7 separate regions of the Homo sapiens genome follow, and all the other regions are linked to region 6. Evidence: promoter capture Hi-C in 16 types of primary human blood cells and fetal thymus (Javierre and others, 2016). All regions are on one chromosome and are shown on one strand. The core of a region is centred on a gene start or on the middle of the fragment in contact, and the rest is flanking DNA. Distances in the headings are between cores, read along the strand shown. Region 1 has its middle 16 kb from the start of PURG. Region 2 overlaps GTF2E2 (general transcription factor IIE subunit 2). Region 3 holds the start of UBXN8 (UBX domain protein 8). Region 4 overlaps GTF2E2 (general transcription factor IIE subunit 2). Region 5 overlaps WRN (WRN RecQ like helicase). Region 6 holds the start of TTI2 (TELO2 interacting protein 2). Region 7 overlaps GSR (glutathione-disulfide reductase).

Evidence for each region. Contacts are between HindIII fragments. The CHiCAGO score rates a contact against its expected background, and 5 or more counts as called.
Region 1: a contact is called between a fragment that was not itself captured here and the fragment with the promoter of TTI2 in region 6, in 2 of 17 cell types (neutrophils and non-activated CD4 T cells). The highest score is 7.4, in neutrophils.
Region 2: a fragment that was not itself captured here is called in contact with the fragment with the promoter of TTI2 in region 6 in 3 of 17 cell types (neutrophils, activated CD4 T cells and non-activated CD4 T cells); the score reaches 6.1 in neutrophils.
Region 3: a fragment that was not itself captured here is called in contact with the fragment with the promoter of TTI2 in region 6 in 1 of 17 cell types (naive CD8 T cells); the score reaches 6.2 in naive CD8 T cells.
Region 4: a fragment that was not itself captured here is called in contact with the fragment with the promoter of TTI2 in region 6 in 1 of 17 cell types (non-activated CD4 T cells); the score reaches 5.3 in non-activated CD4 T cells.
Region 5: a contact is called between a fragment that was not itself captured here and the fragment with the promoter of TTI2 in region 6, in 9 of 17 cell types (total CD4 T cells, non-activated CD4 T cells, total B cells and 6 more). The highest score is 13.2, in total CD4 T cells.
Region 7: a fragment that was not itself captured here is called in contact with the fragment with the promoter of TTI2 in region 6 in 2 of 17 cell types (neutrophils and non-activated CD4 T cells); the score reaches 8.3 in neutrophils.

What each region holds. Positions count from the first base shown.
Region 1 is chr8:31,016,494-31,019,193 of GRCh38, forward strand. It overlaps a transcript of PURG not described here. Among named protein-coding and RNA genes, the nearest start is that of PURG, 16 kb to the right of the region's middle. The HindIII fragment of the contact is 5,501 bases long and covers 1-2,700 here.
Region 2 is chr8:30,650,922-30,653,621 of GRCh38, forward strand. It overlaps GTF2E2 (general transcription factor IIE subunit 2), which reads right to left. Exons shown (of 8, transcript NM_002095.6): 2 at 2,512-2,681. The coding sequence starts at 2,677. Among named protein-coding and RNA genes, the nearest start is that of GTF2E2, 6.0 kb to the right of the region's middle. The HindIII fragment of the contact is 6,292 bases long and covers 1-2,700 here.
Region 3 is chr8:30,741,914-30,744,613 of GRCh38, forward strand. UBXN8 (UBX domain protein 8) reads left to right here and starts at 2,251. Exons shown (of 8, transcript NM_005671.4): 1 at 2,251-2,364. The coding sequence starts at 2,277. LOC105379356 (a long non-coding RNA gene) reads left to right here. Exons shown (of 2, transcript XR_005646967.2): 2 at 1,798-2,159. It overlaps LOC105379355 (a long non-coding RNA gene), which reads right to left and starts at 1,764. Exons shown (of 2, transcript XR_949634.2): 1 at 832-1,764. RefSeq lists enhancers at 1,760-1,899, 1,934-2,700, 2,140-2,219. The HindIII fragment of the contact is 4,701 bases long and covers 1-2,700 here.
Region 4 is chr8:30,634,857-30,637,556 of GRCh38, forward strand. GTF2E2 (general transcription factor IIE subunit 2) reads right to left here. Exons shown (of 8, transcript NM_002095.6): 3 at 176-267. Among named protein-coding and RNA genes, the nearest start is that of SMIM18, 2.4 kb to the right of the region's middle. The HindIII fragment of the contact is 2,146 bases long and covers 236-2,381 here.
Region 5 is chr8:31,036,418-31,039,117 of GRCh38, forward strand. The region is part of intron 1 of WRN (WRN RecQ like helicase); the gene reads left to right. Among named protein-coding and RNA genes, the nearest start is that of WRN, 4.0 kb to the left of the region's middle. The HindIII fragment of the contact is 782 bases long and covers 942-1,723 here.
Region 6 is chr8:33,511,685-33,514,384 of GRCh38, forward strand. TTI2 (TELO2 interacting protein 2) reads right to left here and starts at 1,451. Exons shown (of 8, transcript NM_001102401.4): 1 at 1,398-1,451; 2 at 283-1,028. The coding sequence starts at 929. It overlaps SNORD13 (small nucleolar RNA, C/D box 13), which reads left to right and starts at 1,791; the gene lies at 1,791-1,894. RefSeq lists an enhancer at 1,483-1,622 and a silencer at 2,053-2,102. The HindIII fragment of the contact is 19,476 bases long and covers 1-2,700 here.
Region 7 is chr8:30,711,224-30,713,923 of GRCh38, forward strand. It overlaps GSR (glutathione-disulfide reductase), which reads right to left. Exons shown (of 13, transcript NM_000637.5): 2 at 839-865. Among named protein-coding and RNA genes, the nearest start is that of GSR, 15 kb to the right of the region's middle. The HindIII fragment of the contact is 2,628 bases long and covers 24-2,651 here.

The DNA of each region.
Region 1 (2,700 bases), core at 36-2,535, 2.5 Mb before region 6:
ATGGTGTCATGACTGACAGTATTTAAAACTTAAGCAATTTGTGCTGGAAAAACGATATGGAAGAAAGAATGCAAGTCTACCAAGAACCAAAAAAAAAAAAAAAAAAAAAAAAAAAAGAAAGAACGCAAGTCCACAGTCTAAGTGAATGACAAAGAGTGGCTTCCAGACCACTTGTATCAGAATGAGTAAGACGATGAAAAATGCCAATTTCTGAACCCCTCTCTTGAACCAATCAAATCAGAATCTCTGAGGATGGGGACCAAACCTGTATTTTTATTTAATACACCTGCACACTTGTGTTTGAGAATCACTGGACTAAATTTTAAAGGATGCAACTGCTGTCATTTTAATGGGGGTTAGAACTCATTAGAAGCAAATGTAGAGTTTAATACTTAAGAGTATCTTTGATGACATCATCATGGCCATCATTCTAGTTTCTCAGAGGCATAGTGGAGATGCTCTGCTCTTTTAAAGGAGAGATGATCAAAAGAAAAAAGAAAAAAGGAAAGAGATTTCAAATAATCTCTTTCACATATTAGAAGAGACACATTCCAGGTGAGTCACATGGTAGTTTGTGCTGCAACTGCCAGCTATCTGGCTAAGCTAGAAATTTTTAGAGCTACAATGAAAACTTTTATGTCTCTAAAGCAGGAATGATAAATAGCAAATATTTGGCATGAACACTGTTTTTTCCCTCTCCCTGTAGATACAAACACAGCACTTTAGGGCAGCCAATCAATTGCAAATACAAGCGAGATGAAACCCATTTACCACTACTTCTCCAGGGACAAGAAAAAGGTGAATAGGATTGGGATCTCTTTTAAAAATTTTTACATATATATGTAAAAAATTGTATATATATGCATGTGCAATATATGTATGTTTAATATATATTACACATACTCTCTATAAGAGATTATATATCTATATCTATATCTATCTATTATATATAAAGGGTATGTAATATTTATCTGGAGGAATAAAATTTGCTTAGCCAAATATTTAGAAATGTGCAATATAGTTTATAGATGTTTGTGTGATAACATTTAAATCACTCAGATCTCTCCATAAAAGCTACTATTTGCCCACTTGAAATCTGGAAATGTTACAGTATCACAAGAAAGCACAGATGATTAGAAGAAGTGACAAGAAAAAAGTGGACACCACCAGGCAGAATCGAGTTTCATATGAATTCACTAGGTCCTGAATTTAGATATGATTGCATTTGTAGCAATAATGAACTTACTTGGAAACTTGTTGTCTAAAACAAAAAATTTAAGATGAAATTAGCAAACGATGTTGCTTCTTTCCACCTTAATTAGCAGTGCAAGAAAAAATGGAGAAAGATATTATAGATGTTTCGACTTTTAAACAGAATTTAATGTGAATTTTATAAAGAAAAAATTTGATAATATCCAATAATTTGGTTTTCCAATTTACCCTATTGCCTCTTGTGTCATTCTAAATAAACCGACAGCAGGTACTTTTGAAATAGCACTATAAATACTAAATTTATTCCTTCATATTTTTGAAAACAGATTGAAAGTGAAAAGTTTCTTTGAAGATTATAAAAGGTAGACTTAATCTTACAGAATAAATTTCATAAATTCTATTTAACTAGTCATTTAATTAATAAAGTTCATGAAAATTTAAAACCTAGTTCTTACGTTGTTTTGCAATAACAAAGGATGGGAAGAAGGATTTCTTTTCTTTATATGTTTTCACAATAATATTAGAAAATTTGAAATCACACTTCTTTATCCAAACCAGTAAATTAACAGAAGGCCTGAAGGCAAAAGTTCCAATGATTATTTCCAATAAATTCTGAATCCCTCAGAGTGGAGAAGAATCTGAGCCATAACAATTCACCTTTTCTGATTTATTAATTCCCTTTATGCATCCCACATTCAGTGCGTGCCTAAATAATTAATTCCAGGAGCAGAGAAGTCATGCAATCCTTAAAGTTTGCCCTAATGTTGAGCTGAAGTCTACTATAAATTTATTCTGCCTGAAGCCTACTCAAAGTATAATTCTAACACTTAATTTTTTTAAATCTAAAATTTATCTTGTAGCCATAATGCAAATGAATAGAGAATTTTTAAAAAAGTTACATTGCCTGTAATGATCCATTTGAGTTTGTGACTATCTCTGTTATGTCAGCAGTTAGTTAATCATTTTCACAATTAGGAACTCATTCAGTGTTCTGGAGTGCTAATCATTCAAAGGTAGTAGCTGTTAAGAGAAGTCAATGAACTTGCAGAACTGCCAAATGTCTATGTATGAATTAATTTAATACTTCAATACAATGTAATCCACTAGAATGACAGCATTAAGGTTTATATATAGTTATAGATATTATATAGATTTAGACATAAAATATGGTTTTATTATTGGGAGGCTGAGGCGGGCGGATCACGAGGTCAGGAGATCGAGACCATTCTGGCTAACATGGTGAAAACCCGTCTCTACTAAAGAATAGAAAAAATTAGGCGTTGTGGCGGGCGCCTGTAGTCCCAGCTACTCGGGAGGCTGAGGCAGGAGAATGGCATGAACCCGGGAGGCGGAGCTTGCAGTGAGCCGAGATCGCGCCACTGCACTCCAGCCTGGGTGACAGAGCGAGACTCTGTCTCAAAAAAAAAAAAAAAAAAAAAAAAAAAAAAAAAAAAAATATATATATATATATATATATATATATATATA
Region 2 (2,700 bases), core at 168-2,667, 2.9 Mb before region 6:
GAGAACAGCATGAACCCGGGAAGTGGAGCTTGCACTGAGCTGAGATTGCGCCACTGCACTCCAGCCTGGGCAACAGAGCAAGACTCCGTCTCAAAAAAAAAAAAACCACCTCTCAACAAACTAGAAATAGAAAGGAACTTCTTCAACTGGAAAGGGCATGTACAAAAACCTGCAGTAATATCATGCGTAAGAGTGAAAAACCGAATGCTTTGCCCCTAAGATCAGGAACAAGGCAAAGGTAGCTACTTTTACTATTCAATGTACAGCCAGTCCAGACAGGCAAGATAAATAAAAATTAAAAAGTTCACACCGGAAAGAAAGAAAGAAAACTGTTCTTATTCACAGATGACATAATCTTGACATAGAAAATCCTAGGGAAACCACACAAAAAACTACGAGAAATAAAAAACAAGTTCAGTCAGGTTACAGAATACAAGATCAATGTATTAAAAAAAACTCTTGTTTCTATATACTAGCAATGAACAATTTAAAAAAAAAAATCAAAGAAAACAATTTCATTCATAAGTGAGATTGAATCAGAATAAAATAACCGCTGGGTGTAATGACTCACACCTATAATCCCAACACTCTGGGAGGCTGAGGTAGGAAGATTGCTTGAGGCCAGGAGTTTGAGACCAGCCTGGGCAACAGAGCAAGATCCTGTCTCTACAAAAAATTTGTAAAAAGCCATCTATTCATTGACTGGAAGATCTAATATTGTTAAGATGGCAGTTCTTCCCCAAATTGATTTATAGATTCAATTCAATCCCTATGGAAATCCCAGCAGGCTTTTTTGCAAATGTTGATAGATTGACCCTAAAATTTATGCAGAAAAACTAAAACAATTCTTGAAATAAAAAAGAACTAAGTTGATGGACTTACATTTCTCAGTCTCAAACCTTAATTACAATGCTACAGCACTCAAGAGAAATGATACTGGCATAAAGATAAACACAGAAGTCAATGGAACCAAACTAAGACTCCAGAAATAAACTCTTTGATTTATGGTCTACTAATATTCAACAAGGGCGCAATATAATTCAACAGGGGAAAGATCATCATTTCAAAAAATGATGCTGGGACAACTTCATAAGAACACGCAAAAAGATAAATTTTGACTCTTATGCTAATCCATACACAAAAATCAACTCAAATATACTACAAACCTAAATGCAGGAGCTAAAACTACAAAACTCTTAGAGGAAAACACAGAAAAAAATTTTCATGACCTGTGTCAGGCAAAGATTTCTTAGATATGACACCAAGAATACAAATGATAAAAGAAAAAAACTGGTAAGGTGGACTTCATCAAAATTAAAAACTTTTGTACATACAAAGACACTATTAAGAAGATAAAATGACAAGCACTTGCTTGGAGAAAATATTTGCAAATGTATACCAGATCAAAGAATGGTAGCCAGAATATATGAAGAATTATTAAATCAATAGAGAGAGGAAATATACCTCAGTTTTTTTTATGGGCAAAAAAAAATTGAATAGACATTTCACCAAGGAATACACATGGTCAATAAGCACATGAAACAATGTTCAACATCATTACTCATTAAGGAAATGCGTATTAAAGCCACAATGATAGAACTTCACAACTATAGAAATAGCTATGATTAAAAAAAAAAAAACAGAATTTCAAGCGTTAGCAAGGATGAGAAAAAACTAGAACCCTGATACATTGCTGGAGGAAATATAAAATGGTACAGCTATTTTAGCAGTTTCTTAACAAGTTAAATATAAATTTGACATATGACCCAGAAATCTACTTCTAGGTCTCTATCCAAAAGAGATAAAAAGATATGTCTACACAAAGACTTGTACATGAATATTCATACCAACACTATTCAAAACAGCCAAAAAGTGAAAATAATCCAAATAACCGTTTATTGGTGAATGGATAAACAAACTGTGGTACATATATCCATACTATGGAATACGCTTTACCAATAAAAATGGAATGAAGTACTGATGCATACTACATGGATGGAACTCAAAAATATGCCAAGTGAAAAAAACAACACACAAAAGACCACTTACTGTACAATTTCATTTATAGGAAATATCCAGAAAAGGCAAATATACAGAGCCAGAAAGCAGATTATTGGTTTTCCGGGGCAGGGATGGGAAAAGTCACTGCAAATGGGCACATCAGATCTGCTGGGGGTGATGGAAATGTTCTAAAATTGGACTGTAATAACAGCTGCAAAATTCTGTAAATTTACCAAACATCTTTGAACTGTAAACTTAAAATGAATGAACTGTATGGTATGTAAATTAAACCTAAATAAAGTTTTTTTAAAGAGGTAATAACCTAAATTTTAACTACAGCACAAGACTATTAACATCCTAAGAGCTTAAATTCTCTTGTCCCATCCTTTATATTCAACAAAGTGCCTATCAACATGAGTGCTGAACTGAAAAATGAACTAGCCATAACTAAACGGTTTCCTCCTGAATAATCTGAATAAAAACCAAACAGTCCTAAACAATTTTACTAACCAGAATTTTGTTTAGAGCCTGACGATCCTCCATGTTCTACCTTTGTTTTCTTCTTCTTTGACGATGATGATGATGACTCAGAAGATGCTGAACGTTTTTCTACTACAGGAGTAGAAAGAGCTCGTTTTTTGAACAGCTCCCTTTCTCTCAACAGGCTTGGATCCATAATGCTACAAAGAAAAAATAAGT
Region 3 (2,700 bases), core at 103-2,602, 2.8 Mb before region 6:
TTGGTTAGGAACTGCCTTTTGTAGTCCAGAGAGAGATTCAATGGCGCCATCAACAGATTAAATTAGGTAATATGGAAGACCAGGGAGGAAGAAAAAAATACAGGAGGTAGGTGGTTAAGAACTGTAGAACTTCCTTTCCTGTCTTCCTCCTTATGCATGATGAACACAAGATACAGACTGTAGAACTTTCTTTCCTGTCTTCCTCCTTATGCATGATGAACACAAGATACAGACAACTATGGGAACATCTGAACTAGTCAATATAATTAATTATTTTATGGTATGTCATGCTGTAATTTATATTACCTCACCCTTACTGATCTTCAGATTGTGCCCTAATATTTTGCACCTTTGCTTGGAGGATAAAGTTCTTAGCCTATATACAAAGGAAAGCCTCTGCGGCCCTAGCAACAATCTACCTCTAAAAGCCTTCATTCAGCTTTATTTTATTTTTAGAGACAGGGTCTCACTATATCGCCCAGGCTGGAGTGCACTGGCATGATCTCAGCTCACTGCAGACTTGACCTCCTGGGCTCAAGTGATTCTCCCACCTCAGCCTCTTGAGTAGCTGGGAGCACAGGCTACGCCATCACGCGCAGCTATTTTTTTTTTTTAGACAGGTTTAGCTATGTTGCCCAGAGGGGTCTCGAACTCCTGAGCTGAAGCAATCTGCCTCCTTCCGCCTCCCAAAGTGCTGAGAATACAGGAGTGAGCTACCGCGCCCGGCCTCAAGCTCTAAACTGCAGCAATAATCACTGGTAGTTCCTTTGCACTCAGGTTCCTAAACTTGAAATCCCACCCTTCCCGGACATCCTTGCCCAGATTCCTAACCTTTGAACACAACGTAGGCGTGACTTCCTTTTGGAAAGCCTTTTGCAAGCCTTCTGGGTATGGTTCTGCAACACCCTGTGTATATCTCTATCATAGCACTCAGGAACTGCATTATGTTTATTTGCTTACAGGGCTATCTTTCCCAGTTTTTTTTTTTCTTCTCCATAGAACCACAAAGTCGGATAAGCTGAGTTTCTTGAGGACAAATTCAGTAACTTGTAAATATTTGAATATCCAAGAGTTGTAGAGTACCAAACTGTGGAGCTCAATAAATTTCAGATGAACTAAACTGAATAGTCAGGTGGGATGCTAGATGGATGGGTCAGGAAAAAGAATTTTCTTTTTTCTTGCAAAGTGTTGGGATTACAGGCGTGAGCCACCGCGCTTAGCCAGGAAATATAATTTCTTTCTTTCTTTTTTTTTTTTTTTTGAGACGGGGTCTCATTCTGTCGCCCAGGCTGGAGTGCAGTGGTGCAAACTCGGCTCAAAGCAACCTCCGCATGCGGGTTCAAGCAATTCTCCTGCCTCAGCCTCCCGAATAGCTGGAATTACAGGCGACCGCCACCACACCCGGCTAATTTTTGTATTTTTAGTAGAGACGGGGTTTCACCATATTTGCCAGGCTGGTCTGGAACTCCTGACCTTGTGATCCGCCCGCCTCGGCCTCCCAAAGTGCTGAGATTACAGGCGTGAGCCACCGCGCCTGGCCAGGAAAGATAATTTCCAAGTACGAAATGTTGTAGATTGGGAGGACCTCAGTAGCTTGGGAGAAGTGCACAGTGGTGAGTTATAGGACGGCAATGAGGTCATGGAACTATGAAGTCAAGGTTAACAATAACGCGTGCAGGCAAAACTGAAAAGGGGCGGAACAAGGGGTAGCGGGTCTCCAGGACCTGGCATTAGGACGTGCGTGTTAGGGGGCAGGTATTTGGAGCCAGGCCCCACTTTCGAGTTGTCTTTCCGCAGGAACCAGAGACTGCGGACGGGGCCAGGAACCAGGAACCGTTAGGGAGATAAGGAAGGTGTTATAGCCCACATTCATCCTATACGGCCACAAGGCCGGGGGGCCCAGGCTGCCTCCTCACAGCATCAGCTTTTTCTTCGGCTTCATTTCCCTCTGGAAAGCGCTTTCTCACAGACGCTGCAAAGACCGAAGGGGCAGCCCCTGCCCTGCTACCCTCCAGGGAGCCACCGCTCTAGAGCCCAGGCTCCTCTGGACATCATGTGACTTGGGGGACGACTTGCCTTTCTTCTGAAACACGGCTACAGACTATAACTTTAAAACACGGGGCTTAGCTCCCCCTCAATAACGACACGGCCGTCAGTATTTACCACGTTATTGACCCTCTCCCAGCCGGCCCGCGGCAAGAAGAGTTCCACTTCCTTCCCGGAAAACGCGGCCGGAAGGGGCGGGCTTTCCGCCTGCACCAGGCGCTTCCGCCACCATGGCTTCACGTGGGGTTGTTGGCATTTTCTTCCTCTCTGCTGTCCCCCTTGTGTGTCTGGAGCTCCGGCGTGGGATCCCGGATATAGGTAAGTGTGACTTTTTCCCTTCGACAGTCACAGCTGGGTAATTTTCACAGGAATGTTGCATAGAACGACCGCCTCTTCGGCTGCGTGGCTTCGGAGCAGCTTTGACTACAACTCCCAGACTGCATCGCCCCTGCCCCCCCACTTCCGGAGCTGACTTCACTTCGAGGAACCTTTTCCCTCCAGGTGTGATGGTTTTACGTGTAAGAGGGTAGAGGCAAAGAGCACAGGGGCAATCATAGACAGTGCTTTCGCATCCTGGCGAACACTGAAAAGGAAATAAACAGGTTGATAAGATGAAGGTCTTGTGAGAATTTAGGCTGAGAAGTTTTTTGTTTT
Region 4 (2,700 bases), core at 59-2,558, 2.9 Mb before region 6:
TTAATACAATGTAAAAGGCTTGAGGTATAATTGGCATACAATAAACTGCACATACTGAAAATGCACAATTTTGATAAATTTTGATGTATACAGAAATTTAACTTCTGAAAACCCTAATCTCCTTCTTTTGCCAAAAAGTTAAATAGGACTTTTGCTATCTGAGAAAAGTACTTACCTTCATGTAATTCACAATCTTAGCAAGAACACCAAACTTATATCCAGAGCTTCCTGACAAAGCTTTCAAGTTAAATGATCCATTGCTATGATCTGCAAATGAAGTTCAAAATAACATCGTCATATTATGTGTGATTATGACTCTTGAGCAGCTAAAATAATTTTAATGCTGGTAACATATTTCTTGAGTTTTTCATCTAGTATATTCTACCCTGTAATATTCTGGTGAAAAATACACAATCTTTGAGTATATACATTAAAGTACCAATTTTCTCACTAAGGGTAGAAACAAAGTATAAATAACTTAAAACACCAAACCACAATTCTTTTATAAATATCTTTATCACATTATTTTTTATTATATTTTTTGAGACAGGGTCGCATTCCCATTGCCCAGGCTGAAGTTCAATGGCACAATCACAGCTCACTACACCCTCAACTTCCCAGGCTCAGGTGATTCTCCCACCTCAGCCTTCTGAGAGGCTGGGACTACAGGTGCACACCACCATGCCTGGCTAATTTTTTTATTTTTTGTAGAGATGGGGTTTCGCCATGTTGCCCAGGCTGGTCTCAAACTCCTGGACTCAAGAGATTCACCCATCTCAGCCTCCCAAAGTGCTGGGGTTACAGGTGTGAGCTACTGCACCAGGCCCCTTTCTCCTTTATCTCATTCTTATCTTAACTCTGATTAGACTCGCTCCATAATCAGAAGTACACTTTATTAAACAAGGAAACAATACAAACCTCAATCCCATCCATAAAGCTAACACAAGGAGTGGATTACTTCTGAGGGAAGAAAAGTTCAATATACCACTTTTTACATCAATTTCTGCTTACCAATTTAAGACCAAAAAAATAGGAATTAATGGAAACTAATAGAAAAAAGATATCACAATTATTTTAAAGTAAACTTTACAGATAAATTAGGAATAAAAAGCCACAGGCACTGCCACTGCATGAACATGGATGCTTACTTTAAAAAGCATCACAGCACTACCCACCCACTTTGAGAAACACCCCCCTCTCCTTCTCTATCTGGTGTGGAAAACCCTGTACAAAAGATCATTTGTTTCAAAATATCTATCATTTTGTTGCATTCTTACAAGCAGAAACCCTAATGTCACCACTGCATCACAAATGCATTCCATTAGTCATAACCAGGAACAGTAAAAAATCCATCATAAATACTAGAAAAACATTTTAGAAGTACACATTCTATTAGCAAGGCATGAGATCAGATATTATAAAGTTCCCATGTGGCTGATCCACAAAGAGAGAGGTTAAGTAAAAGGGGAGAGGAGAACCAATCTCTGGCACCAGGTTGGTAATAATAATTTAAACAAAAGATTGCATTAGAACAACCACAAGTCAAATGTAACAACTGTCAGAGATCCAAAAGAACAGCTTCTAGATGGCAATACCATACTCCTTTGAGATTAGTGAAGTCTTTATTGAGTATCCTTTTTTGAGACTAAAATGAAACTTCATATGCAATTTTCCTTTAAAACTAACTTTGTTACAATCTTAATTAATTGGCACACTGAAGTCTACCATGTTTCCAAAAGTAACAATAACATTAAGAATGCCTTACAGTTGGGAAGCCCAGGTGGGCAGATCATGAGGTCAGGAAATCGAGACCATCCTGGCCAACATGGTGAAACCCCGTCTCTACCAAAAATACAAAAATTAGCTGGGCATAATGGCACGTGCCTGTAGTCTCAGCTACTTGGGAGAATCACTTGAACGAGAGAGTTGGAGGTTGCAGTGAGCCGAGATAGTGCCACTGCACTCCAGCCTGGCAACAGAGTGAGACTCCGTCTCAAAATTAAAAAAAAAAAAAAAAAGAATGCCTTATAGGTGCTTTTCCATTCACTGTTTCAATTATGAAATATTACCTACGTAGTTCATTCTCCCAAGGTGTTCAGCACATCTGTAATAAAAGTAACCAATATTTATTATCTGCTAAACACTATGGTAAATATTCATACGTAATCCCTCCCAAAAAATCCAACTTAAGAAGTATTACTGTCCCCTTTTAAATATAATAAAATTGAGGGTAGTAAGCAGCAGAGTATAGATTCAAATCCAGTGTAAACCCTGTAATAAACAGCCTTTACACAGATTATTCCATCTGAAACTGGCCATTTTGTCAAAGTACAGAAATCTGTGACTGCACATTTAATGCTTGTTTAAGTAAAATAATATTAAGCTTACCCCACGCAACTGTATAAACAACTGGGAAGACTATGAAAAAAGAGATGACAATGTGTTAAGGACAAACACCACACAAATGGCCAATTATGAATCACAAACAGTTGTGCTTATGAGACATGATGCTTATGTCTCTGGCATCTACTACTAACTCAATGTCAAGCTTAGTAAACACTCAATAAATATTTGTTGAATGAATGACTATAATACAGATATTTCTATGCATTCCTTTATGGCCCCAGAAACTAATGTACCAATTCATCTATAATTTTATTTTATTTATTTTATTTTATTTTATTTGAGATGGAGTCTCAC
Region 5 (2,700 bases), core at 83-2,582, 2.5 Mb before region 6:
TTTAATATTTTGAGTTATTTCCATAATGTTAGTAATAATTTACATTCCCACCAACAGCGAGGAAGGAGTTCCCTTTTCTCCACATCCTCGCCAACACTTATCTTTTGTCTTTTTGGTAATAGCCATTCTAACAGGTGTGAGGTGATATCTCATTGTGATTTTGATTTACATTTCCCTGATGGTTATTGATGAGCAATGTTTCATATACTTGTTGGTTATTTGTATATCTCCTTTTGAGAAATGTCTATTCAGGTCTTTTGCTCATTTTTTAAATATGGTTTTTTAATTTTTTTATTTTTTTGCTATTGAGTTGTTTGACATCCTTAAACATTTTGGAAATTAACCTCTTATTAGATGTATAGTTTGCAAATATTTTATCCGATTCTGTAGATTCTGTCTTCAGTCTGTTGAATTTGCTGTGCAGAGAAGCATTTTATTTTGATGTAATCCCTTTGTCTATTTTTGCTTTTGTTACCTTTGCTTTTGAAGTCATATCCAAAAAATCATTGCCCAGATCAGCAGTCCCCAACCTTTTTGGTACCAAGGACTGGTTTCATCGAAGACAATTTTTCCATCCACAGGAGGGAGGGGATGGTTTCAGGATATTTCAAGCGCATTACATTTATTGTGCACTTTGTTTCTATTATTATTACATTGTAATATATAGTGAAATAATTATACAATTCACCATAATGTAGAATCACTGGGAGCCCTGAGCTTGTTTTCCTGAAACTTGAGGGTCCTATCTGGGAGTGATGGGAGACAGTGACAGTTCATAAGGCATTAGGTTCTTCTAAGGAGCATACAACCTAGATCCCTTGCATGCGCAATTCACAGTAGGTTTTGCGCTGCTATGAGAATCTAATGCCACCGTTGATGTGTCAGGAGGTGGAGCTCAGGTGGTAACGTGAGGAATGGGGAGCAGCTGTAAAGAAAAATGAAGCTTCGCTTGCTTGCCTGCTGCTCACCTACTGCTTTGTGGCCTGGTTCCTAACAGGCCATGGACTGGTACTAATCTGTGGCCCTGGGGTTGGGAACCTCTAGCCCTGACCAATGTTAGGGAGCTTTTTTCCTGTGTTTTCTTCAAGTGGTTTCATGGTTTGGGGTCTTACATTTAAGTCTTTAGTCCATTTTGAGTTGATGCTGTATGTGGTGAGAGATAATTGACTACTTTCATTCTTTTGCATATGGTTATCAGTTTTCCCAACACCGTTTATTGAAGAGCCTGACCTTTCCCCATTGTGGGTTCTTGGCTCTTTTGTCAAAAATCAGTTGGCTATAAATATGTGGTTTTATTTCTTGGGTCTCTGTTCTGTTCTATTATCTGTGTGTCTCTTTATGCCAGTACCGTGCTGTTTTAATTACTAGAGTTTAGTATATTTTGAAGTCAGGTAGTGTGATGCCCCTAGCTTTGTTCTTTTAGCTCAACATTGCTTTGGCTATTCAGAGTCTTTTGTGAGGATAATGTTTTCAAGGTTCACCCATGTTGTGGCATGTATCAGAACTCGATTTCTTTTTATGGCTGAATAATATTCCATTTGTTTATATTATATATATGCCATATTTATTTATTCATATGTTGATGGACACTTAGGTTGTTTCCACCTTTTGGCTATTGTGAATAATGCTGTTATTAACATTGGTGTACAAGAATCTGTTTGAGTTCCTATTTTCAATTCTTTTGGGAATATACCTACGTGTGGACTTACTAGATCACATGGTAAGCTTTTAGTTTAGCTTTTTAAGGAACTGCTAAAACTGTTTTTCCATGGGAGCAGTGTACAAGTGTTCCAGTTCTCCATATGCTCACCAAAACTTAATTTCCTTTTTTAAAAATTATAGCTATCCTAGTAGGTGGTGGGAAGTGGTATCTTACTGTGGTTTTATTTTGTATTTCTTTAATGACTAATGATGTTGAGCATCTTTTAATGTGCTTATTGGCCATTATATGTCTTCTTTGGGAACTGTCTATTAAGTCCTTTGCCCATTTTTTAATTGAGTTTTTTTTTCTGTTGAATTGTGGGAGATCTTTATATATTCTGAATATTAAACCCTTATTGGGTGTATGATTTGCAAATAATTTCTCCCATTTTGTGGGTTTTCTTCACTTTTTGATATTGTTCTTTGATTCACTTTTAAATTTTTATAGAGTCCAGTTTATCTGTTTTTTCTTTTATTACCTATGCTTTTGGCATCATACCTAATTCCCAAATCCAATGCCATGAAGATTTTCTGTTATGTTTTCTTTTAATAGTTTTATAGTTTTACTTTTTCTATTGGAGTTTTAAGTAAATTCTTGTATATTAGTGTGATACATTTTAAGTTATTTTTGTATATGGTGTGAGGTAGGGGTCCAACTTCACTCTTTTCCATATGGAGATCCAGTTGTCCCAGCACCACATGTTTAAGAGTCTATTCTTTCCCCACTGAATGGACTTGGCACCCTTGTCAAAAATCAATTGGTGGTAAATGTATGGATTTACTCCTGGAATCTCAATTCTATTCTATTGTATTTATATTTCTGTCCTTATGCCTGTACCACACTGTTTTGATTACAGTAGCTTTGTAGTAAGTTTAGAAATTGGGAAACATGAGTCCTCCAACTTTGTTCTTCTTTTCAAGATTATTTTGGCTATTTGGGGTCCCTTGCAATTCTGATGAGTTTGAGGATCACCTTTTCCATTTCTGCAGAAAAGCCTT
Region 6 (2,700 bases), core at 201-2,700:
CAAGACCAGCCTGGCCAACATGGTGAAACCCCGTCTCTACTAAAAATACAAAAAATCAGCCAGGCGTGGTGACGGGCAACTGTAATCCCAGCTACTCCGAAGGCTGACACAGGAGAATCGCTTGAACCCAGGAGGCGGAGGTTGCAGTGAGCTGAGATCGCAACATTGCACTCCACCCTGGGCAACAAGAGTGAAACTCTGTCTCGAAAATAAATAAATAATAAAAAATAAAAATAAAAAACTGTGAGGCTCAAGTCGGTGGCAAAGGGCAGGAGTACTCACTTATACAAGTCGGGTTTGAGAAGCCCTAGTATCACCGAAAGTCTCCCTTTCTCATCTTCATTTTCTCCATGTAGGAATCCTGCCACAGAACCGCATTCAGTAACTTGAAGCAGTGAGGTGAGCACCTCCCTAGCAACTTCCCGAGATCTCGGAGTGGTCCATGGTTGCTCCAAGCTGTGTGTGATGGCAAAAATATAAACGGGTCCTGCCAAGTGATGCAGGCCCGTCTGCCATGCAGGGCCGACCAGGGAATTCTTAGCAGTCTCAACTTTCCCTAACAGTTTAAGAAACAGTAACCCAACTTGGGCTGCTTTCTCGGCCGCTTCGGAGTGCCCATCACCTCCACCTTCCTCCTCCTTGGAGGGGGCTGCATACTTCTCCAGGGCTTTTGCTACCTGCCCCAGTGTCTCCGGCATTCCGCGGAGCCGTGCACCAGTCCCCTCAAATAACCTATCAAATTCTGTGGCTTCTATTAGATCACCGAGGTCTTTAAGAACTGCATCTTTTACATTGCCTCGTCGTGCCTCCGGGCGGGCAAGACAGTGTAAAATCTTGGAGAAGGCCTGTCCAAAGGCGGAGTGAGACAACTCCTCGGACAAATTAGAGTCTTCCTGCGATGGGGCTTCCAGAGCGCTGTCAAGCTCCATTCCTGACTGCAGCACCAGAAGGCTGGTCTCTCCCACAGAACGAGGATGGAGGCGGGGAGGGATCCGTTGAAGAGGGAAGGAGCGATCACCCAAAGAGAACTAAAATCAAATAAAATAAAACAGAGAGATGTCTTGGAGGAGGGGGCGAGTCTGACCGGGATAAGAATAAAGAGAAAGGGTGAACCCGGGAGGCGGAGTTTGCAGTGAGCCGAGATCGCGCCACTGCACTCCAGCCTGGGCGACAGAGTGAGACTCCGTCTCAGTAAAAAAAAAAAAAAAAAAAAGAATAAAGAGGAAAGGACGCAAGAAAGGGAAAGGGGACTCTCAGGGAGTAAAAGAGTCTTACACTTTTAACAGTGACGTTAAAAGACTACTGTTGCCTTTCTGAAGACTAAAAAGAAAAAAAACTTAAAAATTTAAAGAAATAAACTTCTGAGCCATGTCACCAACTTAACCACCCCCAGGTACCTGCAACGGCTCGCGCCCGCCGGTGTCTAACAGGATCCGGACCTAGCTCATATTGCTGCCGCAAAACGCAAGGCTAGCTTCCGCCAGTACTGCCGCAACACCTTCTTATTTCACGACGTATGGTCGTAAAGCAATAAAGATCCAGGCTCGGGAAAATGACGGAGAGGTGGAACTATAGAGAATAAATTTGCATATATAATAATCCGCTCGCTAATTGTGTTTCTGTTTTCCTTTGCTAAGGTAGAAACAAAAGAATAATCACAGAATCTCAGTGGGACTTTGAAAATATCCAGGATTTTATACGTGAAGAATGGATGTATCGCATTACGGTAGTCACCCTATGTGTAAATTAGTGGCACATACTTGGCACTCCTTAATGTCAACTATAAGATGATCCTTTTGTAGTTCATGAGCGTGATGATTGGGTGTTCATACGCTTGTGTGAGATGTGCCACCCTTGAACCTTGTTACGACGTGGGCACATTACCCGTCTGACCTGAACTTCAAGGATCGATTTAACACTTGTATTTGTGGGCTTGTTACTTATGATAACAGGTGGCCTAGTTTCATGGCTTTGTGTTTACCGTTTTCGGGTGCCCTTTTTTCTGGCTGTATGCTACACGCACGGGTGCTTTTCCGTTGTCCAACTGTGTAATGTGTTTTTGTGTTTGTTCTTTTGTGAGTCGGAGTCTCGCGTTGTCGCCAGGCTGGAGTTGCAGTGTTGCGATCTCGGCTCACTGCAACCCCCACCTCCGGTTTTCGAGAGATTGTCCTACCTCAGCCTCCCGAGTAGCTGGGACTATAGGCGCGCGCCACCACGCCCAGCTAATTTTTGTATAAATATTGGCAAGGATGGTCTCGATCTCTTGACCTCGTGATGCGCCCGCCTCGGCCTCCCAAAGGGCTGGGATTACAGGCGTGAGCCACCGCGCCTGGCCAATGCAGAGCTTTTTAATGGCTTTAATTTTTTAGGTTTGGGAGATACCTGCGCAGGTTTGTTACCTGGATATGTTGTGGGATGCTGGGATTTGGAGTGCAGCTTAGCCCGTTTTCATTGCCCCCTCTAGTAGACCACAGTGTCTGTTGTTGCCACTTTTATGTCCACGTGTTCCTAATGTTTAGCTCCCACTTATGAATGAGAGCATGCGGTATTTGGTTTTCTGTTCAATGCAATACTTTAGCTGGTTTCTGGAGCTAGCGTTTTAAAGCCTGTAGCCACAAGCGTTTGAAAATTCAAATTCTAGCGTCAAGGTAGAAGCCCCCAGCTGGCGTCTGGGGCAGCCCTGAGGGAGGTGGGTCGTCG
Region 7 (2,700 bases), core at 88-2,587, 2.8 Mb before region 6:
GAATGTCATTAATAAAGGTGGTAAGCTTGAGATTACAACATATGTTGAAAGTACATTCAAATGAGTGGTAAAATTCTTTGCAAGTATAAGCAAGAGGCAGCTTTACAAATAAGAGCTGCTGTTTTTTCCTCTTTGTCAAGGGTAAAAAAAATGAATTCATTCAATGTGACCTGCACCACAGATATTAACAACGAAAAAATCACTAATGTGATACAGAAAATCCATGAACCCACAGAACTTGAGAAGATTCCATTCAACAGTTTGGTTTGCTGGCTGGGTCTTTTTGCTGAGAAAAAACTATCCTGTGGTGTAGATGACCAGGCCTTGGCTGGGGTCTGTGGCTCATGCCTATAATCCCAGCATTTTGGGAGGCTGAGGTGGGCAGATCACCTGAGGTCAGGAGTTCGAGACCAGCCTGGCCAACACGGTGAAACCCCCATCTCTACTAAAAATACAAAAATCAGTCAAGTGCAGTGGCGCACGCCTGTCATCCCAGCTACTTGGGAGGCTGAGGCAAGAGAATCACTTGAACCCAGGAGGCAGAGGTTGCGGTGAGCCAAGATCGCGCCACTGTACTCTAGCCTGGGTGACAAGAACGAAACTCCGTCTCAAAAAAACAATAATAATAAAAATAAAAAGTAATTAAAAATAAATAAAAAAATTTAAAAAACACAAATCAAACAAAAACAATCCTATTGCTTAAGCTACTTTTAGTAGGGTCTAGGGGTTTTTTTTGCAGAAAGAATTTTAACTGATCTATTTGGAAACATTCTGATTTTGATTATGATTTACCAAATAGAAAAAGGATTGTAAAGGGAAAGAGAAATAAAAATTCTACCTTTTTGGGTACACATCCAACATTCACCTGGAAAAAAAAAAAAGAGACACACTTTAAGAATATTGAATTCAAACCATCAAACGAAATCTGCAAGAAATGCACGCTAAGCATCAAGCGAGGAGTCTTCCTTGGGTTCTAAGTCACAGTGTACTAAATTCTAGTTACTTTCTTTGTTACAAAAAGATAAGAACATTATTTTCCTTCTGTAATGAGGGAGAGAAGTTCATTCATCAGCATTTTTCTTGGACGGAGAAAGAACAATCAGCCCATTTGAGCTGCTGTCTAAGAGGACTTCTCGGGAAAGTACTGCAGAATACATGGATAAACACCCAAGATGGGCCAGGGCTTGGTAGTTCACACCTGTAATTCCAGCACTTTGGGAGCTGAGGCAGTTGGATTGCTTAAGCCCATGAATTCGAGACCAGCCTGGGCAACAAGCGAGACCACGTCTCTACAAAAAAAAGTAGCTGGGTGTGGTGGTGCATGCCTGTGGTCCCAGCTACTCAGGAGGCTGAGGTGGGGGGACCCTTTGAGCCTGGAAAGACAAGGCTGCAGTAAGCCATGATCATGATCATGCCACTGCACTCCAGCCTGGGTGACACTGAAAGACTCTGCCTCAAAAAAGAAACACACACACAAAGAAAGGCTGAACATTGAGATACTGGTGAATACTCACCAAAAGCACAAAAATTTAAAGTACATGGCATGGAACTTAGGATATTGATTAACCATTAGTACAGAAACTTGAGAAAACCTAAATAAATATTAGATCTCATAAAATGACTTTGATTTATAACTACTAGGCATTTGGCCTAAAGAAGTAACCAAAGATGTAGAAAAGCGAAATGCACAAATGCACAGATTATCATGTTATGTACAAATACATATTTGGTTACAATCATTTCCATTTCACTCTTAGTTAATATATAGAAATACACTTATGGAATAAAAGTAGAAAAAGCAAGACTCAGAAAACTACTTTTTTTTTTTTTTGAGACGGAGTCTCGCTTTGTTGCCCAGGCTGGAGTGCAATGGTGCGATCACAGCTTACTGCAAACTCCACCTCCCAGATTCAAGCGATTCTCCTGCCTCAGCCTCTTGAATAGTTGGGACTGTAGGTGTGCACCACCATGCCCAGCTAATTTTTGTATTTTCAGTAGAGATGGGGTTTTGCCATGTTGGCCATGCTGGTCTCGAACTACTGACCTCAGGTGATCCACCTGCCTCAGCCTCCCAAAGTGCTGGGATTACAGTCATGAGCCACTGTGCCCAGCCAGAAAACTACATTATTTTTTTGTTTGGTTGTTTTTTTTTTGAGACTGAGTCTCACTATATCGCGCAGGCTGGAGTATAGTGGCAAGATCTCAGCTCACTGCAACCTCTGCCTCCCAGGCTCAAGCAATTCTCATGCCTCAGCCTCCCGAGTAGCTGAGATTACAGGCGCCTGCCATCCTGCCTGGCTAATTTTTGTATTTTTAGTAGAGATGGGGATTCGCCTTGTTGGCCAGGCTGGTCTCGAACTCATGACCTCAAGTGATCCACACACCTTGGCCTCCCAAAGTGCTGGAATTACAGGCATGAGCCACCACGCCCAGACGAAATCTACATTTTTTAAAAGTAAAGATAAAAGATAATTTAAATAATGAAATATTTTTCATCTGTCAGATTGGCAAAAATTTTAAAGGTTGACTATAACTAGTGTTAGCAAACATATCCTGATTGGCCCAGCAATTCTACTTTTACAGTAACCTAGAAAAGTAGTCACATATTATGCTCCCGTGTCCAAAGATGCATTTATGGGGCTATTCCTTGAAGCTTGGTGATAACGGGTAACTACAGACAGGTTAAATATCCATCGGCAG